7 separate regions of the Homo sapiens genome follow, and regions 2, 3, 4, 5, 6 and 7 are each linked to region 1. The links are contacts of gene promoters, found by promoter capture Hi-C in blood cells and fetal thymus (Javierre and others, 2016). All regions are on one chromosome and are shown on one strand. The core of a region is centred on a gene start or on the middle of the fragment in contact, and the rest is flanking DNA. Distances in the headings are between cores, read along the strand shown.

Region 1 (4,298 bases), core at 960-3,459:
ATATATACGTTATATATATATATGTGTATGTGTGTGTGTGTATATATATATATATATAAAACGTATATATATACTACTTAACCTAATAGCAGGACCCCAGAAAGCAAAATATATATTTCCCCACCTCCTCCCCTTCCCCGCTAGGGAGAGGGGAAAAAAAAAAATCAAACATATTTCCAAATAAGTTACTGAAATCATGTGGTCAAACATTTAAATAAAAATATACATAAGATGGTCCAAGGTACAACTGGAACTGTCAAGCAGGATTAACTCAAAGGATAATGTCTTATGAACTGTATGACAACATATATAACAGTTTTCAGTTAAGAGCTGGCTTGCCGGCAAATACCTTAATTAAAGATCTCATACAACTTCATCGTTTTCTCCCTTTTTAAGATGTGAAAAATAAAACAAGGAACCACAGCACTACTTAGTACCTAGGGACACAGTAAAAGTTCCTAGCAGGAAAAATGTCTCCCCGTTCTTGTGTCAATAAACAGATGGCACAATTTTGGAATTACAGAAATTAATGTAGCATATCTCCCAACACTTAAGTGAGAAAATACAATATCTCTGAAGTCTTTCTTGTAATTACAATCCTTCATTCACAAATTACTGTCTTATTACAACTTATTATAACAATAACATATATTACTCCTCTCAAAAAAAGCATTATCTATCCAAAAGCTGACTGATATGCAAAATATAGTAACAATAACAAATGTAAATTTCCATTTGTTATTAAAACTGTGGCATTCAAATTGTAAGCCACAAAAACTGCTGAATCTTACGCAGAAAAAGGATACCATTTTCACTTATGGAGAAGTTCCCTATTGTGGATTACAGTCTTCTCAATTATTACACTTTTGTTACTCAATGTGAAACACAAGCACACACACAAAAAAGGGGTCTTTCTTTCCTTTTTCTTATCCGTTTTCATTTCTTTCACACAAGGAGATGCTTTATACGTGTCATTGTTTTGTAGCCTAATTAGAGTTTTCCTATTCTATTATCTCAAACTTTTATCACAGCTTCTTACAACGGACTTCACGAAATTAAATTTTAAGGTTTAGATACTGTAAACGCTCGAGGAAAGACATTAGTATTCTCACTATTACATATTAAGGATTCTCTAGCTTGCAGTTAGGTGATTTTATAATACATGTAAATGCATATAATACACTTAAGGTGCATTATATACATGAAACGAAGTGTTCGTTTTATTTTATAAACTTTTTTTATTTTATAATACACGTAAATGCCTCGAGTGTATTATTATGTATTACATGAAATAAAGTGTTCACTTGAATTTTGCCTCCCTTCAGTCTATCTCTCTTCAGTCGAAAGAGATAAGTAGGCCTTTATTGTCCAAAAAAAAAAAAATTGTCCCAGCCTTTTCAAATGTCAGGTTAAACTGGCAGTCCTATGAATGCCACCTGCAACCTTACTAATGGAATAATTACTCAAAACGAGAAGCCCCCAAGAGTCCCGATCTCAAGTGGCTTCCTCCTATTATTCCCGCGAGGACCCCAGCGACAAGACTCGCCCAACCTGAGGCTCCTGGCTCTCTTTCCTCGTCCTGAGTCAGCCCTTCCCACTACTCATCCGGAGTAGACATCTTCCAACACCCGAACCTTCCAGACTTTCCCTCTTGCCCCCACAAACAAAAGCAACCCTCCTCCCTTGGGACACCCGGCTTCCCCTCTCTGCCGACCGGCCGCCCAGCCCACCTCGGCCCCAAGCACCCCTCCCCCATTTCACGCTCCGCCCGCGCTGACACGGAGCTGCCACCCCAACCCTTCTGTTTCGCACCTCTCTCCCGAGGGCTCCTCCTGGGCAGCCAGCAAACGCCCGCTCCTCGGCCCGCCCACCCAGCTGCCTGCAAACCCCGGGCCTGCCACTCCCTGTAGAGCCGCCGGGGCCCACCTCGAAGAGCTCGGCCGTGGTAGCCATCCCGGCCGGCTGAGAGGCTCGCCCCCCACTGGATGCCGTCTCCGCTTCACATGCTGCGCCTCAGAGGCGCGGCGCACAGGTCTCCGCTCGGCTCGCCAGCTCCGGCTCCGGGCCGCTGCGGGCTCCCCAGCTCCCCACAGATCCCAGGAGGGGCGGGAGAGCGGCCATGAAGCGAAGCCGCAAACGCTTGTCAGCTGCCTCCCGGCGCCGCCCGCGCTGCTCCCATTGTCACCGCCTCATACGCCGGAAGTGGAACTGCGCGCGCCAGGGAGGTTGTCGGGAGGGGCCGGCGAATAAAACGAGCGGCGAAAGAACCGAAAAAAGGCTCGACGCTACCGTGTATGAGGAACTTTGATCCTTGCGGGCCACCATTCCGGAAGTAGAATTTAGAGGAAGAAAATACCGGAGTTGCAGGGTATAGGTAAATTTCTCAAGGTTATAGGTTGGGGTTCTTAGAACTTTTTGTGGTGTGTGTTGGCCTAGAGCGACTCAGAAGCGTTAGTGACTTCACCTAAAAAAGCTAACCTCTCTGCTGAGCGCGACCGGTATGCGGCGCAGGATGAGCCTCAGGGCTTCTGTTAAGAGTCTGTCTGAGAAAGCCGGTCTGCGCTGTTCCTCGGTGGCGACCTTAATTATGAGATGAGCTAATGCTTTACTGACTTAACCATGGCGCAGCGGGCAGTGTGGCTCATAAGCCACGAACCGGGAACTCCACTTTGTGGCACCGTGAGATTCTCCAGGTAAATGCAAATCTGAATCCTCAGGGATGATGGATCAGAAGATCGATGAAGTAGCATAGTTTTGTGGTGCTTCGTGGCCCAGGTTTGCCACGAATAGCTGCGTGACCTTGGGCTAGCCAGTTAACAGACCTCTGTTTCGTCTGTTAAATGGAGATTTTAATAGTCCTACCTTACAGTGTTGTGAGAATTGAGTTGATGACTGGTACATATTATTTACGGTATATGTTTTCTATTAGTATTGTGTTTTAAAATGACCTCCGTCTGCTTAGAATTAAAATGGAGATGACTAAGGGAACGGTAGAAAATTTACTGAGCACTAAACATTTTCAGATTTTTCAACATGCATTGACAAAATCGTTCCAGAACATTTTAACTTATTCTACTGAAAAATCCATGCTAAGTTATATCAGACTTTTATTTTTTTGTTTTTATTTTTTTGAGACGGAGTCTCGCTCTGTTCCCCAGGCTAGAGTGCAGTGGTGCGATCTCCGCTCACTGCAAGCTCCGCCTCCCGGGTTCATGCCGTTCTCCTGCCTCAGCCTCCCGAGTAGCTGGGACTACAGGCACCCGCCACCACGCCCGGCTAATTTTTTGTATTTTTGGTAGAGAGGGGGTTTCACCGTGTTAGCCAGGATAGTCTTGATCTCCTGACCTCGTGATCCGCCCGCCTTGGCTCTCAAAGTGCTGGGATTACAGGCAGGAGCCACCGCGCCCCGCCCAGGCTTTTATTTTTATCTTGTTAATATGTGTCAATGGTAGAAATCATCAGTTTACAGTTCCTAATTGTTGAAGAAAATAGAAACACAAAAAAATGTATTCACTATTTCATATATTGTGTTAAGTTGATCTGGTCCCACTATTAGAATTTGCCCTGTGTAATCAAAATAGCTCTGTTAAGGGAATTGTACAGTAACTCATTGTAAAATGTTGGTGGCAATCGAGTGGGTCTATTTCACCTTTTATTCTCTGGCCATTGATAGTTCTTTTTTGTCACAATTCGTTCTTCCCTGAAGAAAGCTTATAGTGAAGTAGTACCATAGTAGAATTGAGATTGAGGCAGAAAAAAAAGATTTTAATTTTAAATGAAAATTGGTTGGCAATGGGGATATGAAAAATTCCTTCTTTGCAACCTTAACAGTTTTTGTTCCTGAGGGCATCAGAGTTGGAGTTTACCATTTCCCCCCAGGATTTCTGGCTGACACTAACCCCAACATTTGTTGTTGGACCTCAAATACAGGAGATTAATAATATTCTTTAGTACGTGGTTTTACCAGGCGCATCAGTCCGTACAAAGTATCTCTCATTTTACTTATATTCCCTTTGGTTACCTATTTCTAACTGCCGTTCCCTTCCCACTGACAGATAACTCTTAACATCTTCGATGTTACTCTTTTTCATTGTATGCATTTTTCAAATTACATAATTAAGTGTGCTTTAGACTTCACTTCCTAATGTTACATTTGTCACATTTCTCAACACTATTTTAAAGAAACATCCATGATACTTTGTGTTCATCTAAGGCAGCATGTCCAATAGAATTCTCTATGATGATGGAAAGGAGAAATGTTCTTAATCTGTACTGGCTAATACTGTAGCCACTAGCCA
Region 2 (4,298 bases), core at 1,331-3,830, 2.9 Mb before region 1:
AGACTCGCTACCTTAAGAGCTGTAACACTCACTGAAGGTCTGTAGCTTCACTCCTGAGCCAGTGAGACCACGAACCCAGAAGGAAAAAACTCCGAACACCGGAAGGAACAAACTCCAGGCGTGCCACCTTAAGAGCTGTAACACTCACTGCGAGGGTCCGTGGCTTCATTCTTGAAGTCAGTGAGACGAAAAACCCACCAATTCAGGCCATACGAGTGCGGAGCCCACCCAGCTCGCGCCCACCCAGAACTCGCGCTGGCCCTCAAGGGCTGCGCGCAGCCTCGGTTCCCGCCCGCGCCTCCCTCTCTCTCCACACTGCCCCGCAAGCAGAGGGAGCCAGCTCTGGTCTCTGCCAGCACACAGAGGGGCTCCCACAGTGCAGCGGCGGGCCGAAGGGCTCCCGAAGCGTGGCTAGAGTGGACGCCAAGGCCGAGGAGGCACTGAGAGCGAGTGAGGGCTGCTAGCACGTTGTCACCTGTCGATAGGTGCACCTAAATACGGGTTCATTATTTGACCAAAGGCGGGATTCTACGTCTAGACATGCATACCCACCTACATTCTCTTGTACACAGTACCATGGCCGTTTCTAATATGAAATGGAAACCTACATATCAAAACAATAGCTATAAATACGTGGTGGGTGTGGTCTGTTCCTTAACCCTACTAAGGCCTTCATCTGAGGAAGCAGATCTATATTAAAAGAGAGCAGTATTTCCCAAGTAGCCCTTGAGTTCACACAAAAATTTTGTTTTCTAATTTGGCCTTTGATTTGATTTTGTTTTCTAATTTGGCCTGAGATAATCAGCCAATATGGTCACCATATTGAACAGCACAGATCTAAAAGGATTTCCCGAGTATGGAAAATCTCTGTGGGTGTCTAGGATGGTTAATTTTGTGCATCAGCTTGACTGGGCCATGGTGCCCAGTTATTTGGACAAACATTATTCTGGATGTTTCTGTGAAAGTGTTTTTGGATGAGATTTGCATTAAATTGGGAAACGTTGAGTAAAGCAGACTGCCATCCATAATATGGATGGGCCTCATCCAATCAGTTGACGAGCTGAATACAACAAAAGGCTGACCCTGCCCTGTGCAAGGGGTAATTCTGCCAGTAGACAGCCTTCAGACTTTACATGCAATATTGGCTCTTCTTTGTTCTACAACAGCTTTTGGACTCGAAGTACAGCCTTTCCTGAGTCTCCAGCGCACTGGCCTCCCCCCATCAGATTTTGGACTCTCCAAGCTTCCACAAGCACAGGAGCCAATTCCTTAAAATAAATCTGTTTCTATATCCATATATACACATCCTATTCATTCTTTATCTCTGGGCAACCATGACTAGCTAATACAGTCTCTAAATCAAACTGTGGTACCTTCTTTACTAAGGAATTCCTTCTAATAGCTCTATACCCATTGGCTTTCACAACATGAATCAGGGGTTGAAATTTCTGCATATTTTTCTCAGATCTGCTCCAGGCGACTTCCTTTCCCATGGCTAGTTAAATGGGGACTGGAGAAGGCGGAGAAATACTCACATTTTTAAAAGATTACAGCTAATTATGTAGACACACTGGCCCTTAGACCTATCTTACCTGGCATTTTATAATTTCCCTTTCACACAATATAATTTAATTCATATTTGGGGGACAGGAATATTGATCTACACTGTAACTTGTCTAGTTTCTGGAACGATAAACTAAAACTTCAAGCATATAAAATATGTTTATACTCTAAATTTTTAGTTTTTTCCCTAGTATTTGTATGTCTAGATATAATTACAAAGTCTATGTGATGTTTTTCATGTGACGATCCAATACAGTGCTTCCCTGAGCCCTTAAAAAATAAAAAATAAAAATACAACTTAAAGAAACAAAAACTCCCTACCGTAGCCGCTACAAGGGAGGCTAAGGCGGGAGGATTGCTTGAGGACAGGAGTTCGAGGCCAGCCTGGGCAACATAGTAAGACTTCCGTCACAAACACAAAAACTCCCAACCCGGGTTCGAGACCAGCCTGACCAACATGGAGAAACCCCGTCTCTACAAAAAATACAAAAATTAGTCAGGCTTGGTGGCACATCCTTGTAATCCCAGCTACTCGGGAGGGTGAGGCGGAGACTCGCTTGAATCCGGGAGGCGGAGGTGGCGGTGAGCCGAGATCGCGCCATTGCACTCCAGCCTGGGCAACAAGAGCGAACTCCGTCTCAAGAAAAAAAAAAAAATCACCTCCCAACCGTATGGACCACGCTGACATCCTGCCATCAAGAAGCAAAGCTTTCCAGCGTCCCCCAAGCGCTAGGGCCGCCTTCTGACTCTTCCGCCCCGCCTCCGCCCCCTGCACTCTCCCAACTGGCGGGAGGAGGGCGCCCTCCCAGCCAATCAACGTCCCACAGGGCCCGCCTCCCGCGCGTCTTTCAAAGGTCTTCTAGGAACCAGTCAGCGATTAGAGGCCGAGTCTTCGGCCACCCAAAGGCGGAGTAAGAAACCAGAAGCGGATCTGATTGGTTGCTGGAAGACGCCGCGCCCACCTCACAGAAGGACGAACCAGTGAGCTAAGCTGCGGGGCGCGGGCTCGGCCGGGGCACCGGTGAGTCGCCGGCGCTGCAGAGGGAGGCGGCACTGGTCTCGACGTGGGGCGGCCAGCGATGAAGCCGGTGAGTCGGACGTGCTGGGGTTTGGAGGAGCGAGGCGGCAGGGACGCAAGCGGTCCCGGGGACCCGATCCTGGGCCGGAGGGCAGCCCTAGCCTGGTAGCAGTGCGACTGGCGCCGTAACCGTTCTGCGGGTCGGGGAGGTGACTCGCACGGGCCCAGCACGGGCACGAGAGACGAAGGAGCAGGGTCGGTGGCCGACGAAGGAAAGACGGACATTCGCTGTGCACCTGCTGTGGGCTGTCACCTGTCCCCTGCGGGGTCTCATAAGCCTCCCAGCCGCCCAGCCAAAGAGGGCCGAGCCTCGTTGTACCGAGGAAACCGAGCCGAAGAGCTTGAGTGTCAGCGATGAGTGGGCGCGATACCCCAGCCCCGAAGGGTGGCCGGGCGCTACCTGCGCCCACAGGGCCTGGGGAAACCTTGAGTACGAATGCCACGCCGCGGCTTGTGGGCGACACCACCGCTGTCACCATGCCCCAGGGCCACCTGGCAATGCTGCTCTTTTCCCGTGACGTTCAGAATCACAGGGCCTGGGGAAGCAGAAACGTCCAGCTCTGTTAGGATTAATAAACCTGGTGAATGGGCCACACAAATTTGAAATATGAATCATCAAAGTTGCTTTAAAGAAAAAACAGATGCAGGCAAGGAGCTGAAGATCCCCCACCTAACCCATATTTCCTACTGCCCGGCTTGACAACCTACTGGAAGCCTTTCCTTTGGGTGCAGTTGATTATAATACTTCAGATAGAGCCAAAGCAACAGAAATCCATAGCCTAGGGCCGGGTGGTGTCTCGCGCCTGTAATCCCAACACTTTGGGAGGCCAAGGCGGGCGGATCACTTGAGGCCAGGAGTTGGAGACAAGCCTAGCCAACACGGTGAAACCCCGTCTCTACTAAAAATACAAACATTAGCTGAGCGTGGTAGTGCACGCCTGTAGTCCCAGCTACTCGGGAGGCTGAGCCACGCAAATAGCTTGAACCCAAGAGGCAGAGGTTGCAGTGAGCGGATATCACGCCACTGCCCTCCAGCCTGGGCGACAGAGCAAAACCCTATCTCAAGATAAAAGAAAGAAAGAAAAAAAAGTCCGTAGCCTAAATTAGCCGTCCTGTGATCTTCTAGTACCAAGACCGTTGTAGAATATAGCTTCAGAGCTAGAAAGAGCATTAGGTGCTTACAATTGCTAATCCCTATGTTGCCATGTGGAGGGACATCAGCTGTCCTTCACTCCTGGCCTCTTTCTCCACCTGTCCCCATTGAGTTATCTGATCCCCGAGTTTGGAAGGAACTGAACACCAGTATCTCAACTTTTTCTTTCCTTCTTTCTTGGGATCTACCTGCCTGCCTGCAGAAGGTGCTTTCTGGTCCACTCTCTGGCACACAGGAGCCCCAGACTGTCCATGGCCACCTGTGACTGGGTGGATACATTTGTCTAATTCTGGGGTGAACAAGGGGCAAGCCCACGTGGCAACAGCTTTAAGCTGCATACTCCATTTGATATACAATAATAAAACTCCATTTCTTTATCTTTCAATTGGTTTCAACTAGGGAGTGAGAAAAGGGTATGGGTTTTGTTCTGTTTTGTTTTTGTTTTTCTTTTTCTTTTGATTCCTTAAAATTTCAACAAGGAGTGTAGAAGTCTTCCATGTCAAA
Region 3 (4,298 bases), core at 1,218-3,717, 2.8 Mb before region 1:
CCTCAAGCAAATATGGCTGAAATGATAACATTTAAACATGCAAAATATAATATTCTCTTGTTAAAGTTCACAATTTAAAAAATAGTGATATTTGTCTTCCCCCATACTTTGGCAGAACTGTCAAAACAAATTTAAATAGGGAAAACTGTCAGATGCACTGCTATTCAGCCAATTATTGGCACCCTATCCAAAAGGCAACCTGTGCTGCTATAAAAACGTCCTTCAACCTCCTGCAGCATTAGGATGTCCCAAGCACATGTCTCTTCTCAGTGAGAATTTCTTTCCGTTAAGAAAAGCCAGGAATCGCACATTACCTGTTAAAATGAAACCTGTCCCTCCTAAATTTACAATACATTAGGAAAATACAAGAACTTGAGCTTCAAAAATTAGGCTGTCTTGAGTTCAAGTTCTGACTCTATCTTAGCTGTATAACATTCGGCAAAGTGCTTTAACCTGGCAAAGCTTCAGTTTACTCTCCTATTCATGAGATAACAATTTACCTACCTCAGGATTGTCATGAGAATTAAATTTAAAAATTCAGGCAAAGTGCTTACCACAGAGCCTAGCACCCAGGAAAATCCTCATCTGATTTCAAATATTTTTACCTTCATCATCATTTGGTTATTGAAGTAATGAAAAGACAAACAGCACAGAATACTATTAATAAACAGCTATCAAAAGGGGAAATTTCAGTTTCTTCATTTCCTGGTAACAACTTCAACTACTTAGGTTAAGATGTTTTAAAATTAACACTTAATGCTTTCCAAGAGAAGGCAAATTCATCTTCTTATGTCTTGTTTCATAAGAGCAAAGAAACAGCTAATAAGTTAATACTTTTAATTGTACCTACATCAACTCTTACTGTAACAGTTCTCTAAAGACAAACTAGAAATCTCTTCCACCATCCACATTTATCTGGGAAACAATAATAAAGTACCAAACTAACTTTCTAGATGCTTTTCCAAATAAAATCCCTCTAGCACCTAGTGCTAGTACACTAGTATGCTAGACAATTAAAATCTACACAAACTCTCCCCTTCGTTAAGTAATTTTTAAAGCTGAATTACTGTATTTTATTTCTTGAAGACATACCCACTGCTTTCTTATAAACAACCAACCTTTCAATTACTGACCAGTCAGGCAAAATCAAATACACAGGCTAAAAGAGTATCTTCCTAAATGCAGGCAAAAATACAAAAAAACAAACTGGGTACCCTGGTGTGTGCCTGTAATCCCAGCTACCCAGGAGATTGAGGCAGGACGATCACTTGACCCAGGAGTTTGATAAGAGCCTGGGCAATATAGAGACACCCCCATCTCAAAAGAAAATTTAAAAATACATACATATATATTTTTTCAAAAACCCTAAGCACAATGGAGCTACATTATCACTAAATTCATGATGGCTCAGAACTCAGTGTAATTCAGGCCTGTTTTAGAAACAGAAAGTAGATACACACTAGAAATAACCACATAGACATTTGTATACAAATTGTTATCTACAAAATTATGGCACCCTAAGTCCAAAGAATGGCATTGCTGCGAGATCCCAGAGCCCCCAGAACAGAGCTATCCACCTAACAGGCTCTGAATAAACATCAGCTGAAAGAATGACTCATTTATTCCAGAATATGCAAACCAAAGATAAAACTAGATATGGCAGATAAGTCCATACTAAAGATTTCACTCACATACTACCTCACAATAAGTCACAACCCGAGAATCATCTCACCATCTATTAGTCATTTTATGTTAACCAACTTTCAAGTACTACACCAAATAATTTCACATAGAAGTGCCTATGGCTATAACATAAAAAAACGCATACGCATTTAACAGCTTTCCCTACTTGACTGGGCCAGCAAGCATATATTTGCATAAAATATGAAATTTCATGAAATCATAAACCTCAACAGGCATATGAACGAGCACACTGAACAAAACGTTACAAATACAAATGCCCTAACCCTCCCCATGAAATGAATATAGCATTAAAACATTTAACTAAAAAGCAGTACACACCTTTAATGCAATTTTGACTCTTTTAATCTTTTTGACCTTTTCAACTGTCTTTGGCCGACAATGTAAAAAGCAGATTGGAAGAATGTTAGTATGACAGCTGACAAGATCACCAGCAGATTAATAATAGAATAGTCAAGCACGACAGGAAAAAGAAGATTTTTTAAATTCTGCCTACTTCAAAAAGTACAAATATATTATGCTACTCAGAATACTGGCCATTTTCAAATTACTTCAAGTTAAAAACAAACATATTTTTAAAATCTAAAGATAAATCCTATATTATAACTTACGGGATTCAGGGTATTACACTGGTCTATAGGATTCTTGTAATCAGTCTTCAGCTCATCAAATGCTATAATCTAAAATAAAATTAAAACAGTTAGGACCACTCACTTTAATTAAAAGCAGCAACAAACCTGCCCCATCTTCAAATAATTATTAAAGTTAATAAAACAAGAACAAAAGTACACCAAGATCCCAAATACCAATTTACAGTAAACTCATATATGACAAAAAGAACCAGAATGCGATTTAAAGTGAAAACACTCTTATCTCAGTATCACTAAAATTTGGTATTACTGTAATAAATACCTTCAATTTTCAATTTCGTCAATGCCTCTGCTCAAGTTATTTCAACTTATCTCTACTCGAAATAATCTTCTGAGTAGAAAAATAATTTCAACTGTTTATCCAAATTCCTCTTTATCCTAAAAAAAAAACAAACCTTCCTAGGTCAACTTCTTTCTGCAGGCTTTCCTAACTCCTTTGGGCAGAAGTAATTGCCCACATCTCCACACAGCATGGGACTCTATAATGCCATCGATATGGCTTTTCTCACCCTGGAGTGTGGTATTTACACACAGGTCTGTCTGCCCCTCTACACTCTCAGGGAGAAGGACCATTTTTATTTATCTGTGCATGCTCCTCCTCCCTTGGCACAGTGCTCAGTGGGACACTAGAGATGGATTCGAACTCTTCAATGTGTTCCCATTGGTGCCCAAACACATACATTTGTAAGGATGCTTTTGTCCACACTCTGGAGGAATGTGGCTTCAACCTCAAGGGTCACTAGAATGTACATTAAGAGTCAAAATAGGGACTCTGCACCACTTTGTGGCATCATTTCAGGTGACAAAGAAAGAAAACAAAGGCAGCAAGTTGATGGGGGAGCCATTTTAGTTGCTAACACTACTCACCCCAGGGACACACAAACTAAGCTACCCTTCCCTTAATGAGTTAGGAATAGTATCTTTATATGTGAAAGTGTTGCTCAATATTATCAGTAATCAGTAAAGTTACATATTTCCATCTTTTAACATGACTGTTTATTTCCCTGTTAAAATTTAGATTCATAAAAAGACGGTTTTTTTAATTTCTAGAGTTCCATAAAATTCACCCACCTGCCCTAATAAAAACTCCAACCAAACAACAATAGAAGGAAAATAATAAAACATTAGAATGTAATCTCTGAAAGAACAAAGATTGTTGTATTTACTATTATGTCCCAGGGCCTAAAATATAAAATAGTGCCTGGCACATAGTTAAGTGTTCAATAAATATTAACTGGAAGGAGGGGGTGAAAAAAATAGCACTAGGGATTAAAAAAAAAAAATGCAGAACTCACCAGGGGGATTTCCCTTGGCTAATGACACCTAACACAAATGTTAAAAACATACATGTGTAATTAGAAAATACTAATTTCTGATTACTTATGGACGTTATTAGTCTGCTACTTGACGTCAGCCGTGGTATATAACCCCAATGCATTTTAGTAATAAAGCTCAAGACAAGGATGATAATCATAAGTACTTGTCTATAACAAGATCCAACTTAACAGAATACAAAACTTGTCTTTAAAACTGACATTTAATTGGACATTTTCTCCAGGTGACTTCAAGGGTTTTTTTTTTTTTTTTCTTGAGACAGGGTCTTACTCTGTCACCCAGGCTGGAGTGCAGTGGCACAATCTCGGCTCACTGCAACCTCCACCTCCTCGGCTCAAATGATTCTCCTGCCTCAGCCTCCGGAGTAGCTGGGACTACAGGTGCATGCCACCATGCCTGGCTAATTTTTGTAGTTTTTGTAGAGATGGGATTTTACCATGTTGCCCAGGCTGGTCTCAAACTCCTGAGCTCAGGTGATCCACCTGCCTTGGCCTCCCAAAGTGCTGGGATTACAGGAATGAGCCACTGTGCCTGGTCACAGGGATTTTTTAACTATGTTGTTGAATGGGTTTCTCTTTGAGTGCTATAGGCTAGGGTTTTCGAACCTCTTCT
Region 4 (4,298 bases), core at 1,095-3,594, 2.8 Mb before region 1:
GCTGCACTGTGCATTGTAGGATGTTTAGCAGCATTCCTGGCCTCTACCCACTAGAGGCCAGTAGCAACTTCCTAGTTGTGACAAACAAAAATGTCTCCAGACATTGCCAAATGTTGAAGTGGTAGGGAGGAACACTCCGAGTTGAGAATCACTGTTCTAGATGAATGTCCTAAGCTTTGGGCCACAGACTAAATACCACATTAATCATCAGTGTCAGCTCAGTTGGAGCAGGCTTCAGGTAGCCTCCTACCACTTAGTATGTACAGACAACAGAAGCCCAGCATCTGAAACCATGAGAGTTTCAGGAACTTGGAAGTTCAATGGGCTATAAAGAGTTAAGCTGTTAGGTTCTGCCAAACTACTATAAGATTTTTCACAATTCCTGTTATCTATGATGTCATATCAAAATTGCACATTCAGTTCCATTTGCCAGTTTCTCATGTTTGAAACTCAAATTTAGGACCCTTATTATTTATATTCCTACCTATTTATATTTCCAAATTGAGATCTGACCTTCTGACCTTCCAGGAAAGAATGTGGACTATAGAAAGACAATATGAATGAAAGGGTTGGCAGCTCCAAGGCAAATAACATAAGGGAGATTATAACTTTCAAAAACATGTTAATATTTTTGCATTTCTTGGCCAGGCTCGGTGGCTCACACCTTTAATCCCAGCACTTTGGGAGGCCAAGGCGAATGGATCACCTGAGGTCAGGAGTTTGAGACCAGCCTGGCCAACATGGTGAAACTCCACCTCAACTAAAAATACAAAAATTAGCTGAACGTGGTAGCTTGCACCTGTAGTCCCAGCTACTTGGGAGGCTGAGGAAGGAGAATCGCTTGAACCTGGGAGGCGGAGGTTGTGGTGAGCCAAGATCATACCACTGCACTCCAGCCTGGGTGACAGAGTGAGACTCCGTCTCAAAATATATATATATATTTTTTGCATTTCTCTTATGGGACCTTCTCCTTGGTCAGTCAGAAGCATCTATCAGCATCAAAGGATAAATAGAACTGTGATGTCAGAAATTAAAAAGAAAAAGCTAGGCTGGGTGCGGTGGTTCGTGACTGTAATCCCAGCACTTTGGGAGACCGGGGCGGGCAGATCACAAGGTTAGGAGATCGAGACCAGCCTGGTCAATATGGTGAAACCCCGTCTCCACTAAAAATACAAAAATTATCTGGATGTGGTGGTGGGCACCTGTAATCCCAGCTACTTGGGAGGCTGAGGGAGGAGAATCACTTGAACCCAGGAGGCAGAGGTTGCAGTGAGCTGAGATCATGCCACTGCACTCCAGCCTGGGCGACAGAGCAAGACTCTGTCTCAAAAAAAAAAAAAAAAAAAAAAGCAGCTTTTGACTTCTAAAATAAGATGTTTGAATCTCAAGAAACACAGTCATCTTGAAAAAGCCTGACACTACCAAGAAATAAAGGCTTTATAAACTTTTAAAGTTCAGTTAACATTTCAAAATCAAGACCTTGGCAACAGTAAGAGTGGTATTTAATGTATGCCATACGGCAGGGAAAGTGAGGCTATGACATAAGGAAAGTACCTGCCAAGTAGGAGGGTAGGAAAGTCTTCTGCTTGTGATCTGCTGGAGTGTGGAGAGGAGAAAGGGCTAGAGCAGGTGCAGCATCATATCCACCCGTTCTGGCTTCCGCCTTGTTCCGTGAAAAGGCCATAAAAAGCTGAAGGAGCAGAGAAACCAAAGAAGGAGGCAGACAAATCCAGTTTGTTGGTTTTATGTGATTTATTAGGGAAACTTACAGACAGAAATGTTGTCTTGGGCAGCCGCAAGACAATTAGATCTTCGCACTACAACACCCCAGACCCAGGGCTTATATCTTGGGAAAAGAGCATATGTGCTCTGGAAGGAATGTGTAGGTGGCTATGGGTGTCAGAGGAGAGCCTATGATTTCTGTAACAACAAGGGTTGTTTTGGAGGAAACTTAAAATGAATAGATGTTCCTGTTAGAGAAACCCCTGCTTTTCAGGCCTCTGGTTTAATAATGCATGAACAGAGGGACTCCATCTTGAGTGAGTAACTAAGCACTCACAAGGCTTATAAGGTTAATACTTCTGGTCGAAAATAGTCACATCTCAAGCTGACCACCACTTATAAATGCAGAGTATTTATAACCATACAGAGCATCTCCCACCAAGCCTTCAGAATGCCCAGATGTCCTAAGAGTGCAGCCCACTTTGCTTAAAGATACCATTAACTAAGAGGCTTGGGTTGAAGGATTGATTAATGGTCACCTGTAACACCAATAGCCCCTACCTTTAGTGAGCACATCTGCATGTTCCAAGTTTAATATTGCTCCTTTTAGTTTCTTATAAGTATAGAGGCACTAAAAAAGAATGGAATGTTCCTTCTCCTGCTGAAGACTCCTACTTTGTAACAGAGTAGTTTCCAATAAACTTGCTTATTTCACTGTTCTCTCTGACTCGCCTCAAAATCTTTCCTACACGAGATCCAAGAACCTGCTCTTAGGGTCTGCATCGGGACCATCTTTTCCAGCGATGTTTCTACATAAAGAGTAAGTAATCCCAGCACTTTGAGAGGCAGTGGCAGGAGAATCACTTGAGCTCAGAATGTTGAGGCTGCAGTGAGCTGTGATCATGCCACTGTATTCCAGCCTGGGTGAAAGAGCAAGACCCTGTCTCAAAAATTAAAATAAAATAAAGACAGTTTTGTCCCCACATCCCTCCAGGCTGGAATCTCAGGGAAGCAGGTGGTTGTAGCGGAAGCACCCAAATAGGTGGGGTATTGGGGCTGGGTGCAGTGGCTCACGCCTGTAATCCCAGCACTTTGGGAGGCCAAGGCGGGCAGATCACTGAGGTCAGTAGTTTAAGACTAGCCTGGTCAATGTGGTGAAACCCCGTTTCTACTAAAAATACAAAAATTAGCCAGGCATGATGGCGGGTGCCTGTAGTCCCAGCTACTCGGGAGGCTGAGGCAGGAGAATCTCTTGAACCCAGAAGGTGGAGGTTGCAGTGAGCCAAGATTGCTCCACTGCACGCCAGCCTGGGCGACAGAATGAGACTCTGTCTCCAAAAAAAAAAAAAAAAAAAAATTAAAAAACAAATAGGTGGGGTACTGGAGAAACTGAAGAGATCGGAGCTGGTAGTCCACTTTCCCTCTAGGAAAGGAGGAGAGGCCTTACATTTGGCTTGCTTCACACCACCTTCACCATGGTGCTAGAGCAATGGCATTCAGTGGCAGAGGTAGCCTGATTGGGCATCCTGAGATAACTGCTGCTTCTCAGTAGCCTGCATGTGACATATGTGAGAATCTACATGTTTACATATTGCCCCAGTAAGTAACATTGGAGATGGTAAGCAGTCTGGTGAGCTAGTGGAGCTAAGGAGCCATAGCTTATGAGGGTTTTACAACCAGAGGTAAATGGCTGGAACCCTGGATCTCCGCAGTGAGGGCTGGCCTGGTACCACAAAAAGCCAGATGAAACCCGCTTCCCCTTAGTGAGGACCTACAGGTGTCATGCAGAGCTGAGGTCTCATTTTCCTGACCTCCACCATCAGGTCATATGAACACCTTGTACAATCAGATACTGTCTTGGGAAGAATCAAGAGAAGAGAGAGGAGAGACTAAACATTTTCCTAAAGGAGACCAGCTTCCTAAAAGGTGCAATTAAACTTGAAGAGTCTAAGATACTTTTTTTTTTTTTTTTTTTTTGCCGGAATCTTATTCTGTCGCCCAGGCTGGAGTGCAGTGACACAATTTCAGCCCACTGCAACCTCCACCTCCCGGGTTCAAGCAATTCTCCTGCCTCAGCCTCCTGAGTAGCTGGGATTACAGGTGCCCGCCATCATGCTGGGCTAATTTTTGTATTTTTAGTAGAGATGGGGTTTTGCCATGTTGGCCAGGCTGGTCTCAAACTCCTGACCTCAGTTATCTGCCCACCTCAGCCTCTCAAAGTGCTGGGATTACAGACGTGAGCCACCATGCCCGGCCTAAGATACTTTTTATTGATAAATTTAAGCTCACATTGTCTTCTCTTTTTACCCCGTCTAATAGTAGGGTGGGGCTTCTTTCTTTTTCTTCTTTTTTGAGACAGGTTCTTGCTTTGCTTTTTTTTTTTTTTTTTTTGAGACAGCGTCTTGCTGTGTCACCCAGGCTGGAGTGTAGCGGCACAATCGTGGCTCACTGCAGCCTCAACCTCCCTTGCTCAAGCAATCCTTCTGCCTCGCCCAGTTAATTTTTTAATTTTTTGTAGAGACAGGGTCCCACTATGTCGCTGACGCTGGTCTCAATTCCTGGGCTCAAGCCATCTC
Region 5 (4,298 bases), core at 509-3,008, 2.4 Mb before region 1:
TCCTTTTGGGGCCCCGTCTCTTTCACATTCTGATTTCCCACCCTTCCTTTGGGGTGTGGAAGACTGGGCAAAAAATAACTTTCTTTTTCCCAGGGTCTATTTGGTGGAATCGCTCTACACTCCTTCAGAGAAATAACTGGGGCAGGGAGATTGCCTTTCCAGCGCACTGTTTTTCTTTCAAAAAACAGTGAACGGTAGAATGCTTCTTAGGGCAAATAAATAAATGTCACCAAGACACACGGAAGGTGTAGACTGGAAAATAATGTCTTTGGTCCCAGCTGTAGAAGCCAGAAGCTTTATTTTTTTAAACACAGACCAATACTGCTTCTCTGGCCAACAGGCAGCAAAGTCCCCATTTTCCACTCTCCATCACCCCATCTTGCATCCTACCCACACTGATTGCATCCCCACCCTCTGGGTGAAAAGCCGACACGCCTCAGACGCTAACAGCACCGGGTCAACCCGGCTTTATTTTAGGGTGGGAGGGTGCGGGGATGAGACTGAGTCCTGGAACCCACGGAGCCCTCCGAATCCCGGAGTAGCTTTACTGCTTTTTGCGGGGTTGGGGGTGGGGGGAGGAAACAGATTTCAGCAGCAAACTCACCCAATCAACCTCACACCTCAAACTCCGGGGAAGCCCGTGCCCAAAATTGTGCCGAATTTTGTAAATGTCCTGAACTGGAGTAAACTTGAGGTGGACAAAAAAAAAAGCACAACTCTAAGACTCCGATCCCCTGGCAAATCAGTGGGAATGCAGGTCCCCGAGGTTTCGGGGAAGGATCGCGCCGAGGCTTCAATCCAGATACACACCCTGACAATGGGATCTCAATAAGGAACTACCCAGGAAGCCGTCGCCGCAGCAAGTGCCCAGGTGATCCTTATCGTGGGCAAGTTTGGAACCGCAGGTACCCCGAGAATCCCGCGCTGGGCGCTCAGGCGAGAGGGCTCCGGGCTCCCGTCCACGCCCACCCGGGGCGTTCTAGGAGGGCTGCGCGCTGGGAGCGGGAAGGGCCCCTGGAAGGCGGCTGCAGCGAGTTCCGGGGCTGAGAGGTCGCTGCCACCCAGGAAGCCCCGACTGTGCCCCACGCAGGGCCTCGGCAGGGCGGCAGGCTAGGGCGGGTTCGGAGGTGACAGCGCCCGGCTTCCTGCGCCAAAAGTGAGGCAACTCCGGAAACTTCCTGGAGCCGGCGCGCGTTTCCTGCAAGCACCGCCCCCGCCGCCCGCACGCTCTAGCAGCCCGCGGGCGCACTGACCTGAGATGGTCTCCTGGTAGCCCTTGGTGAAGAACTGCATGGCCGAGGCCGCCCTCCAGGGCGTCTTGAGCAGCCCTTGCCGCTGGGGGTTCTCGCCCAGCGAGCTCAGGATGGACGAGTAGGCGGCTGCCAGGTTAGGGAGGTTCAGCTCGTTATCCTCCTCGCTGCGGGGCCGCTCGCCCTTCCAGCCGTCCGCGGGCTGCGCGCTCTTGGCCTCGGGCCGCGGGGGCTTCTCCGCCGGCCTGCTGGGCCCGGGCCGCGGCGGATCCCGCTCGGGGAACCCATTGCTGCACCTGGCGCCCCGCGGCTTCTCCGCCGGTGCCCGCACAGGGCCCTTCTCCATGGACCCGCCGCAGCCGCTGCCGTTCGGGAAGGACCCCGGGGCGCTTCGAGGTCTGCGGCTAAACTCCGCCGGTGGCCGCGGACAATGGGCTGTGGCCGGAGTCACCTGAGGAAGGTACGCAACCTGCTTAGATCACACTCCGAGCCGGGAGCGGCCACAGGCTGGAAAGCCCGGCCGCGCCTCCTTTTTATGGCCCGGCGGCTCAGCCTGCGCCGCGGAGCGCTCCCATTGGCCGGCCCCGCCTCGCGTCACGGCCCTCGCCGCGCCCCTCGGCCTCCCGCCCCCGGGGTCCCCAGCAGGGGTCGCGGCTCCGGAGACGCCCGGAGGGGTTCGCAAGCGCAGGGAGGGAAGGAAAAGGGCGCCGGCCCCTAGGATCAGGCGGGACCCCTCCACTTATTGCGGAATGAGCCGAACCCGAAAAGAGGCAGTCGTCCAGGAGCTGGGATCTCAGTGAGAAAGACGCGGTCTGGGCGCCCAGTCGCCCCCTCTTCAGGCCAAGAGGGCGCTGCATTGAAGGGCTCCGGTCCCCTCGCCCTGTGAAAGATCAGCAAACAGGTGGCCTTGCCTGGAGAGAGACCGAGTTAAGCCACCGATTAGGAACCAACTCTTAAGCTTTCAAGGCAAGAGAATAATGTGACTTCAGACTCTTGGGTTTAGTTAAAAACGCACCTGCCACCTAGGGGCCAGGTGGCACCGCTGTCGGGGCAAGTGTCACATCAAGTGGCCCTTATGTGGGTCCCTATGTCTAGAAGGATAGGATTTATGGTTGCTAGAACTTTGATCCTGGAAAAATTGATTTGCAAACGAAGATAGGACTTTCACTTAAAATCCATTTCCGTCGGTGGCTCACGCCTGTACTCCCGGCGCTTGGGGAGACCGAGGCGGGAGGATCGCTTGAGGCCAAGAGTTCGAGACCAGCCTGGAAAACATAGCAAGACCTCATCTCTATAAAACCCATCGCATTTTCTAGAAACGCAGTTGTGCAGATTTGGTGCTCAATTGTTTTACAGTTCCATGCAAAGCGTCTTTCCCCAGATGTTGGTACAAATTGTGAAATGCTATTCACCAACTGAACTCTTAACCAGTGACATCTGCTGTAACTGTTTTCTTTGAGATTAATAAATGGACCTTTTTCCTCACTTGAGGGATTATCTCATAATGCCGAAGGTGAGCTTTAAAACATGTATCAAAATAATATTTTTTTTCTTTTTTTTTTTTTGAGGCTCACTTCATCCTCCGCCTCCTGGGTTCAAACGATTCTCCTGCCTCAGCCTCCTGAGTAGCTGGGATTACAGGCACCTGCCACCATGCCCGGCTAAATTTTTGTATTTTTAGGAGAGGTGGGGTTTTGCCATGTTGGCCAGGCTGGTCTCGAACTCCTGACCTCAGGTGATCCACCTGCCTCGGCCTCCCAAAGTGCTGGGATTACAGGTGTGAGCCACCATGCCTGGCCTAATGTAGATTTTCTGACATAGAAGCAGGTATTAATAGGCTTAGGATCAAACAAACCAATAGGGAAGCCTGTGGAATTATTCTATGCTAACAATGTAGCTTGGTCATTATAATAAGTAATTAGTATTTATGATACATCTGCTCTAGGCGCAGCCCCGTTGGAAACATTCAGGAAAGAAATATGGACATTGCCTAGCCTTGTAGGCACCTTTACTCCAAAATGGAAGAAATGTTCATATCAGTGGGGTTATTTATTTATTTATTTATTTATTTATTTATTTATTTTTAAATTTTAATCTATTTATTTAAGAGCGGGTTATGAGACTGGCTAATTTTTGTATTTTTGGTAGAGATAAGGTTTCACCATGTTGCCAAAGCTGGTCTCGAACTCCAGGGCTCAGGATTATAGGCCTGAGCCACCGTACCCGGCCCAGTGGGGTTTTTAAATAGAGAATATGAACATCCTTTGGAAAACCTCTTTGTCATTTTCCTCTTTATTAAAATTTTTAAATTTTTTATTGTAGGTTTTTATTGGGAGTGGGGCCCTGCAACATTTTTTTCCTCTAACTGTGCTGCCCACTGTCTGCTGATACCTCCTGGTCAGAATTATCTGCTGGGTCTCAAGCTATTTCAAGCATAGTTGAAGACAACATTCAAAGGATGACCTTGCATTTAACAAATGAAAACAAAGATACTAAGTGAGGTACTTTAAAAATGGAGAGAGTAGATAGAGATGCTTTCAGTACGAATTTATTTTTAGTGGCAATCTTTCGTCTTCCTTTAAAAACATGTGTAAAGATTAACTAATATTGTATTCCACAAAGACAGTTTCTAATGAAATTTTTACCCTAAAAATTAACATTTTCTTACACGTATTGCCACTGAGGCACCTGCACCTTTGTTGCAGGACAGGGCCTCTGGATACATGCTAACTTGTAAAATGGAGGCAGTGCCTTTCGGCCAAATGCCCAAAAATAATACAAGAAAACTTTGAAATCACCAACATTATATGAATAATTTAATAGTAAAATGTAGATAGTTGACAAGGATGGTTATAAGTAGCAACAGGAGAAAAAAAGAGGAATAAACCAAAAGGGAAGTAGGTCCCAGATAATTTATTAGCATAAAATGGTTCAACAGTAATATTATGAGCATTTACAGCCAGGAATTGTTACCGCATCCATGTTTTTCACCCAGTAAGGGATTCATTTTCAGCTTGGACCCAGTCTGGGAGTTTCTTTCTACCAAAA
Region 6 (4,298 bases), core at 1,048-3,547, 2.2 Mb before region 1:
CAGGAATTTGTTTCGGGCTCGATGGCCTTCAGAGCTTTTTCTATAACAATGATGGCATCTTCAATGGTATAATCCTTCCAGACTTTTAGGATGTTCTCTCTACTGGGGTTCTCTTCCATAGCAATGACAATCCTTTCCATAGATTAGTTTATGTAATGAGCCCGTAAAGGCCTGTATGAACTCCTCATCTAGAGGTTGAATTCGAGACATTGTGTTTGGGGGCAAGTATACCAGTTTGACACCTTCAGTATTGAACTTATGGTGTTCTGGGTGGCCAGGGGCATTGCCCAACATTAAAAGAATTTTAAAGGCAGTCCCTTACTAGCAAGATACTTTCTGACTTCAGGCACAAAGCATCAGTGAAACCAATCCAGAAAAGAAGGTTCTCATTGTCTAGGTCTTTTTGTTATACAACTAAGAGACTGGAGTTTATCTTTTCCCTTCAAGGCCCGGGGGTTAGTAGCTTTATAAATAATGGCAGTTCTGATCACAAATCTGATTGTATTTGCACCAAACATTAGAGTTAGCCTTCCTGCCTTAAATCTTAGTGCTCACTTTCCTTCCTTACTAATAAATGTTCTTTGTGGCATTTTTCCCCCCACAGAATAGGGCACTTTAGTCTACATTAAAAACCTGTTCACCAGCCTGGCCAACATGGCAAAACCCCGTCTCTACTAAAAATATAAAAATTAGCTGTGTGTGGTGGTGTATGCCTGTAATCCCAGCTACTCGGGAGGCTGAGGTAGAAAAATCGCTTGAACCCAGGAGGCGGAGGTTGCAGTGAGCTAAGATCGCGCCACTGCACTCCAGCCGGTGAGACAGCTAGACTCCATCTCAAAAAAACAAAACAAACAAACAAACAAAAAACCTGTTCAGGCAGATGTCCTTTCTCCTCAATGATTTTCGTAATGGTGTCTGGGAATCTGCTGTCTCTTGGTCAGCAGAAGCTGATTCTATTGCCATCTTGACCCTTTCTCTTTCTTTTTTTTTTTTTTTTTGAGATGGAGTTTCGCTCTTGATCCCCAGGCTGGAGTGCAATGGCATAATCTTGGCTCACTGCAACCTCCACCTCCCGGGTTCAAGTGATTCTCCTGCTTCAGCCTCCTGAGTAGCTGGGATTACAGGTGCCTGCCACTGTGCCTGGCTAATTTTTTGCATTTTTAGTAGAGACAGGGTTTCAACACGTTGGGCATGCTCTGACCTCAGGTGATCCACCCACCTCGGCCTCCCAAAATGCTGGGATTACAGGTGTGAGCCATCACACCCGGCCATCTTGACATTTTCGAAGCCAAATCTCTTTCTGATATTATCAAACTATCCTCTGCTGGTATTAAACTTTCCAGCTTTAGATCCTTCACCTACCTTTCACTTTAAGTTGTCAGATAATGACTTCACTTTTTCTGGAACCACATTAGAGTCTATAGCTATGCCTTTCTATTGCAATCCTATACCCACATAAAAGCTGCGTTTTCAATACAAGATAAAGTTATTTCACAAAAAGTGCAAGGTTTTCATGCCTGCTGGCATAGCTGCAGTAACAGTGTCTCAAATTTCCTTTTCACAGTGGTCCTTACACTGGATTCATTTATCTTGAAATTGTGAGCAACCGCAACTGCAGACCTCAATCTACAGTACATTATCAGGCAATTCAACTTTTCTCTCTTAATGTCATGACTTTTGTCTGCTTCTTAGGAGTATGTCCAGCATCACTAGTGGCACTTCATATGATTCCCATGGTGTTATTCAAAGTTTACGGCATTGGACTAAACATGATGAAAAATATATGAGAATCACCAGAGATGTCTTTTTACTGGGATAGGCAATTTACTGGAGAGACAAACTGCTCATGAGCATCATACAGTGTTTTAAGCAGATACAACCTCATACAGTGTTTTAAGCAGATACAACACTTAAGCTTACCGAAATAGCAACAGGAGGTGGCTATGAAATTATTACAGTAATACAGTATATACTACAGTTAATTTTATGTAGTGACGATTTAACACTGCATCTTTATGTTTGTTTACATTTCTCTTGACTGCGGATGGTCTGGAAATGTTTGAGTGTGTAAATTTTAGTACATTTCAACTTTTTATAATAGATTTGTGTATATTTTATGGTAGTAAATGATAAAATACGCTAGTATCTACATAGATTTTATGCACTCATGACATACTTTTTCTTAATTTTTCCATATTTCTAGGCTACATGGTTCGTCTGCTAGTTTTTTCAAATTGTTAGAAACTGCCAAAAATTTTCTAATATGTGTATTGAAAAAAATCCACGTATAAGTAGACATACACAATTCAAATTCATGTTAAGGGTCAATTGTATATTTCTATCTCTAGCTCACATTTTTCTCTGAGCTTGAGACACAATTATCCAACTGTCTACTTTATCCCTCTAGGTGAATATCTCAAAGAAATCCTACAATAATCACATCCAAACGCAAACTCAATCTCCACCCACAGCTCTACCTCTGAAATACGCCCTTCTTCAAGTGTTCCTGTTATTTGCAAGTGGAAGCATCACTTTCTCAACCGTAACATTCAGAAATGTAGACGTTATCCCTGTTGCCTCTTTCTCCATCCTTAATATCTGATCCATCCTGTTGACTTTATCTTTTTAAATATTTCCTGAATGTTTACTCTTTTCTACACACCCATGTTTACTCTAGTCCAAGCTTCTATCACACTTACCCAAACTTGTGGGGAAAAGCAAGAGAGATCAGATTGTTACTGTGTCTGTGTAGAAAGAAGTAGACATAAGAGACTCCATTTTGTTATGTACTAAGAAAAATTCTTCTGCCTTGAGATTCTGTTAATCTATAACCTTACCCCCAACCCCGTGCTCTCTGAAACGTGTGCTGTGTCAACTCAGAGTTAAATGGATTAAGGGCGGTGCAAGATGTGCTTTGTTAAACAGATGCTTGAAGGCAGCATGCTCCTTAAGAGTCATCACCACTCCCTAATCTCAAGTACCCAGGGACACAAAAACTGCGGAAGGCCGCAGGGACCTCTGCCTAGGAAAGCCAGGTATTGTCCAAGGTTTCTCCCCATGTGATAGTCTGAAATATGGCCTCGTGGGAAGGGAAAGACCTGACCGTCCCGTAAAGGGTCTGTGCTGAGGAGGATTAGTAAAAGAGGAAGGAATGCCTCTTGCAGTTGAGACAAGAGGAAGGCATCTGTCTCCTGCCTGTCCCTGGGCAATGGAATGTCTCGGTATAAAACCCGATTGTATGCTCCATCTACTGAGATAGGGAAAAACCGCCTTAGGGCTGGAGGTGGGACCTGCGGGCAGCAATACTGCTTTGTAAAGCATTGAGATGTTTATGTGTATGCATATCTAAAAGCACAGCGCTTAATCCTTTACATTGTCTATGATGCAAAGACCTTTGTTCACGTGTTTGTCTGCTGACCCTCTCCCCACAATTGTCTTGTGACCCTGACACATCCCCCTCTTCGAGAAACACCCACAAATGATGAATAAATACTAAGGGAACTCAGAGGCTGGCGGGATCCTCCATATGCTGAACGCTGGTTCCCCGGGTCCCCTTATTTCTTTCTCTATACTTAGTCTCTGTGTCTTTTTCTTTCCTAAGTCTCTCGTTCCACCTTACGAGAAACACCCACAAGTGTGGAGGGGCAACCCGCCCCTACACAAACTAATACAGGTATCTTCTAACAGTCTTTCTGCATCCATGAGTGCTCCTTTTCCAATTCATCCTCCATGCATTTTCTCAAAAACAAACCTGATCACATCTCTCTGCTTCAAGCCTTTAATACCTTCTCAGTGCTTTTAGGATAAAACGAGATTCCTTAATAAAGTCCAGAAGGTCTTGGATAGGACATCCATTGCCTAACTTCACAGATTCATCTCTCACTAAACTCTGCATCACTCTCCACATTTTAGTAAGGCTAGTTTTCCTTCAGTTCTTTGAGCATACCATGATCCCTGGCCCCATTGGGCCTTTACACACAGTATTGCCTCTGCTTACTATGCCAACATCACCACCCCACCGCCACCACCACTCATCTCTTTATACTGCTTAATGCCTGCTCCGTCTTCAGATGGCGTCTCAAGAAACACTTGTCCAAAGAAGCCTTCCCTGACTCCTTTAACTAGATGAGCTTCTCCTCATACATGTTTATCACTGCACATATTACTTGTTTCTAAATACACATTTATTTTTGTGATTAATTTGTGTTCAATGCCTGTCAATCCAAAAAGACCTTAAGCTCAAAGGAGGAAAAGACTGTGTCTGGTTCGCTCTATTCTATCTGTAGTCCCCAGCAAAA
Region 7 (4,298 bases), core at 792-3,291, 2.2 Mb before region 1:
ATTGAGTTGGACTTAGATCATTCCTGTGGGCATCGATTTTTAGGCCGATCTCTTAAACAGAAACTGCAAGATGCCGTGGGGCAGTGTTTTCCAATAAAGAATTGTAGTAGTCGGCACTCTTCAGGGCTTCCGTCTAAAAGGAAAATTCATATCAGTGAACTCATGTTAGATAAGTGTCCTTTCCCACCTCGATCAGATTTAGCCTTTAGGTGGCATTTTATTAAACGACACACTGCTCCTATAAATTCCAAATCAGATGAATGGGTAAGCACAGACTTGTCTCAGACTGAATTGAGGGATGGTCAGCTAAAACGAAGAAATATGGAAGAAAATATAAACTGTTTCTCACATACCAATGTTCAGCCCTGTGTCATAACCACCGACAATGCTTTGTGTAGAGAAGGTCCTATGACTGGCTCTGTGATGAACCTGGTTTCAAATAACAGTATAGAAGATAGTGATATGGATTCCGATGATGAAATTCTAACACTTTGCACAAGTTCCAGAAAAAGAAACAAACCCAAATGGGATTTGGATGATGAAATCCTGCAGTTGGAAACACCTCCTAAATACCACACGCAGATTGATTATGTCCACTGTCTTGTACCAGACCTCCTTCAGATCAATAACAACCCATGTTACTGGGGAGTGATGGATAAATACGCAGCCGAAGCACTACTGGAAGGAAAACCAGAGGGTACCTTTTTACTTCGAGACTCAGCACAGGAAGACTATTTATTCTCTGTTAGTTTTAGACGCTATAGTCGTTCTCTTCATGCTAGAATTGAACAGTGGAATCACAACTTTAGCTTTGATGCACATGACCCCTGTGTCTTCCATTCTCCTGACATTACTGGGCTCCTAGAACATTATAAGGACCCAAGCGCCTGTATGTTCTTTGAACCACTTCTATCCACTCCCTTAATTCGGACTTTCCCTTTTTCCCTGCAGCATATATGCAGAACAGTTATTTGTAACTGTACAACTTATGATGGCATCGATGCCCTTCCAATTCCTTCTTCTATGAAATTATATCTGAAGGAATATCATTATAAATCAAAAGTTAGAGTACTCAGGATTGATGCACCAGAACAGCAATGCTAGTAACAGGATGGGAACATGGGAATGATAATATATATTTTTTCTTTTAATATTTTATTTTTCTTTTTATGCCACTTTGGATTTTTCTACAAAGGCAGTGGTGTCCAAAATAAAATCTCTGCCCTAAATTTTACTAATAAATCCATTTTTCTAGTGATACACAAATTGTTTAAGGTTATACACTCGAGCTTAAATAGATATTTTTAACCAGGTGTTTGGTTTTTGTTTTTACCGTGTAGGTTGTATACTTACATTTTTTCTTTCCTTAATTTATACATGATCCTTTTTCCTTAATTTATACATGATCCAGGCACATTTGAAATTTGGTAGGCATTGCAAACACATTTGAATATTGTGTATTTCATACTATTCTTTAAAAGTAATCTTATGTCCTTTCCTACATGTAAAATATTTTGTTAATCTATGCCATTAGTAGTATTATATATAAAATATAGTTCCCCGTCCCCCTTTTCATTGAGTTTGATATTCTTCAGTAAAGCTGAATGTTGTAATTCACCATTCATACTAATGTTATTGACTTTTGTAACTTACTAATAGGGATGTTAAAAGTAACAAAACCAAGTCAAACTTGGTGTATTTTTATTTTAAATATTAACTCTAAAGCAGGATTACTAAATTTGATTAATCTGGTCAATGAGAATCAAATGGAAACATATCATTCTGGAGGTGCACTTACTCTTCTACAATGTGGCCGGATCATTTGTCATTCCTGAATAGGTCTTTCTCTCAACCTGCAAGAGCTAAACCATCTTCAAAACATAAATCTTGTTCCTTTCTCATTGGAAGCTTTGAAAATAATGATAACACTATTAGTAGCTAGTAGTTACTAAAGTGCTAAAGTAATTGTGGGGTTTTTCTGTATTAGCTTATGAACTGTTGCTTCTACTTAGCCCTTTTATAGAAACTCTGAGCTGTTACTTTGGGGAAATTCCACAATGTATTAGCAGCCACAAATTTCCACTGGTAACCAAAGAGTACCTAAGTAGTTTTTCATTATTTTAAGTTGAATTTGAATAAAGATTCCAGAAATAAACATGGAGCTCAGTATTCAGGAAGCTTAATACTGTTTTTGATCTACAAGATCCAAATAATTATCCCTATCTTCAGAATTAACTTAGTCTGTAATGTGGCTTCAAAAAAAGAAAGCCTTTTGACAGCTACATGACTTACACCATACAGAACAGTACTGGACAAAAGGGGTGATATTTTAAATTTACTATCCCAGAAACAGGGCAACGTTTTTAGAAACATCTTTAGCCCAAAGTAACTAGTAAAAATAAATGGAGTGGTATCCTATCTTCTTTTTTTAAGGAATCAATGAATAATAAATGTAGATAGACAATTTTCTTCTGGTGAGCTGTCTAACCCTTTGTACACATTGACATTTTTAATATCGTAACTGATTTCTTGATGCTAGTTTAGCTATATTAGGAAACTGCTTCTACCTAGATTGAAAGAAATTTGACTCATAAACTTCCAAGTTAGAACAAATATTTCTTCATTATTGTTGCTTTTATGTGAGTAGCATTTCCCTATCTTGCAGTTCTGTTAACATGAAAATGGCATTTTTCCATAATAGCTTTAAAATAATTTTTTAGTAATTATTACAAAATTAAGGAAAATCTCTATTACCGTTATCTTTTAGCATTTTTTTTTTCCTCAGTGATCTCAAGATTGTCTTAGTCTCAATGAGATGTAGCTACAAAAATGGCACCTCTTAGCAGTGATGAGGCTCAGGATATCGGATATCATAACACCAATGTCAGGATAAATATCTCTTCTAAAGACGATATTTACCTTTTACAAGGTTAGAAAAGTCTCATACTACCTCATCTTTATTGTGGCGCTTTTGTAGATCACTGAGAAGCTTATCTTATTAACCAATATACCACTTCCTAAATATCCATCTTTGGTGAAAGAAAATAGTGTGGTAAGAGTACCCATGATTATAGTTTTTTATCAGAATTTGATAAGATTTTCTGTTTCTGTGAAACAATTATTTTAAATATTTTTCTTTTAAAAATAACTTTTTATCAGTACAGAAAAACCTAAGGGATGACTAGCTTACAAATATTCTGTTAAGGGGTAGTTTTATAAAGAAAAATGATATATAGTTATGTTGTCTTTTATAGTGTTAAAATTAGTATTTATATGAAAGTCAAGATCTAAGTACCTTTTCATATAATTCAAACTGATTGCTTGTGATATGTTTTCTCTGGCTTTTTTATTTTTTCAACTTCAAGGTATTAACAGCTGTTAACACTTAAAAAGTACTGCCACATATGTAGCCTTGAAGTAGTTGATCTAATAAATGAGAGCAGGGAGGAGATTCATTGACTCTGAAATGATTTTTATTTTTCCTTTGGTATTTGCTACAGTGAAAAGAAGTTTGGAAAGTAGATACATAAAGACTTGAGAAGGGAATTGTTTAAGGGAAAAGAAAAGAGTAATAATTTTTTTTAAAACATTAAGGAATTGGAATTCAGAAAGGTTACCCCCTTCCTCTGTGTCTTTGTAAGGATACATTTGGAAGAACATACAGTATTCAGAAACTAACCTATATAAAATGTAAACAATATATTGATTGCACTATATAAATGAGTAAATTTTGAGAGGAACAATGTGGGAATGTATAAATTTGTCTAAAATTTTATAACTGTTGAACAAAGGGAAGATTTGAACAGTGTAAATTCCAGAGTTGAGAAAGCATTTAGCATGGTGGAAATGTGGAGAGCTTATTGGTGAGAGAGGATGGAGCTAAGAGAAATAAGATCAAATATTAAAATTAGGAATTTAGGCATTACCTCAGGGAAAAGCCTTGACAGTGAAAAGAAACTACTTAATCGCTAATAGCTAGTCTGGACCAGACACTTAACTGCGCTTTGGGAATCATCCTGGGCTAATCAGGAAATAAACTTGACTTTTCTATTTTTCTCTGAAGCTTTACAGGACATACTCCCACTCCCATTTTTTTCTAAGCCTACAGCATCTTGATTCATAGTATAATTCCTGAAGTATGCTGAATGGACTTTTTAAGGTTCCTTTAGCATTTTTGTATAGAGTTATATGTGATCTTTCTATAACCATGCCATTCACTTAAATAATTCATGAAGGGAATGGTTTAATTTAAAGGAAGACCTAATAGGAAGAAGATTAAAGGAAGCTTTTAGTCAGCC

What was found. The method cuts DNA at HindIII sites, captures the fragments that hold promoters and counts their contacts. A CHiCAGO score of 5 or more calls a contact.
Region 2: the fragment with the promoter of CDKN3 here is called in contact with the fragment with the promoter of EXOC5 in region 1 in 6 of 17 cell types (naive CD4 T cells, non-activated CD4 T cells, monocytes and 3 more); the score reaches 17.3 in naive CD4 T cells.
Region 3: a contact is called between a fragment that was not itself captured here and the fragment with the promoter of EXOC5 in region 1, in 2 of 17 cell types (total CD4 T cells and fetal thymus). The highest score is 5.3, in total CD4 T cells.
Region 4: a contact is called between a fragment that was not itself captured here and the fragment with the promoter of EXOC5 in region 1, in 1 of 17 cell types (non-activated CD4 T cells). The highest score is 6.3, in non-activated CD4 T cells.
Region 5: the fragment with the promoter of GCH1 here is called in contact with the fragment with the promoter of EXOC5 in region 1 in 5 of 17 cell types (fetal thymus, total CD8 T cells, naive CD4 T cells and 2 more); the score reaches 8.7 in fetal thymus.
Region 6: a fragment that was not itself captured here is called in contact with the fragment with the promoter of EXOC5 in region 1 in 1 of 17 cell types (fetal thymus); the score reaches 11.4 in fetal thymus.
Region 7: a contact is called between a fragment that was not itself captured here and the fragment with the promoter of EXOC5 in region 1, in 1 of 17 cell types (fetal thymus). The highest score is 8.4, in fetal thymus.

What each region holds. Positions count from the first base shown.
Region 1 is chr14:57,266,696-57,270,993 of GRCh38, forward strand. It overlaps EXOC5 (exocyst complex component 5), which reads right to left and starts at 2,210. Exons shown (of 18, transcript NM_006544.4): 1 at 1,927-2,210. The coding sequence starts at 1,953. It overlaps AP5M1 (adaptor related protein complex 5 subunit mu 1), which reads left to right and starts at 2,276. Exons shown (of 8, transcript NM_018229.4): 1 at 2,276-2,693. The coding sequence starts at 2,620. RefSeq lists a silencer at 1,641-1,700 and enhancers at 2,010-2,593, 2,241-2,440. The HindIII fragment of the contact is 4,317 bases long and covers 1-3,708 here.
Region 2 is chr14:54,394,427-54,398,724 of GRCh38, forward strand. CDKN3 (cyclin dependent kinase inhibitor 3) reads left to right here and starts at 2,581. Exons shown (of 8, transcript NM_005192.4): 1 at 2,581-2,651. The coding sequence starts at 2,643. The HindIII fragment of the contact is 7,211 bases long and covers 2,270-4,298 here.
Region 3 is chr14:54,434,057-54,438,354 of GRCh38, forward strand. It overlaps CNIH1 (cornichon family member 1), which reads right to left. Exons shown (of 5, transcript NM_005776.3): 2 at 2,313-2,381. Among named protein-coding and RNA genes, the nearest start is that of CNIH1, 5.2 kb to the right of the region's middle. The HindIII fragment of the contact is 4,014 bases long and covers 461-4,298 here.
Region 4 is chr14:54,503,638-54,507,935 of GRCh38, forward strand. No RefSeq gene overlaps it. Among named protein-coding and RNA genes, the nearest start is that of CGRRF1, 4.1 kb to the right of the region's middle. The HindIII fragment of the contact is 4,344 bases long and covers 173-4,298 here.
Region 5 is chr14:54,901,068-54,905,365 of GRCh38, forward strand. It overlaps GCH1 (GTP cyclohydrolase 1), which reads right to left and starts at 1,759. Exons shown (of 6, transcript NM_000161.3): 1 at 1,254-1,759. The coding sequence starts at 1,596. RefSeq lists silencers at 944-1,003, 1,014-1,063, 1,474-2,113. The HindIII fragment of the contact is 1,914 bases long and covers 293-2,206 here.
Region 6 is chr14:55,021,844-55,026,141 of GRCh38, forward strand. All of the region lies in intron 2 of WDHD1 (WD repeat and HMG-box DNA binding protein 1), which reads right to left. Among named protein-coding and RNA genes, the nearest start is that of WDHD1, 3.1 kb to the right of the region's middle. The HindIII fragment of the contact is 768 bases long and covers 1,914-2,681 here.
Region 7 is chr14:55,043,261-55,047,558 of GRCh38, forward strand. SOCS4 (suppressor of cytokine signaling 4) reads left to right here. Exons shown (of 3, transcript NM_199421.2): 3 at 1-4,298. The coding sequence ends at 1,104. Among named protein-coding and RNA genes, the nearest start is that of MAPK1IP1L, 6.2 kb to the right of the region's middle. The HindIII fragment of the contact is 270 bases long and covers 1,907-2,176 here.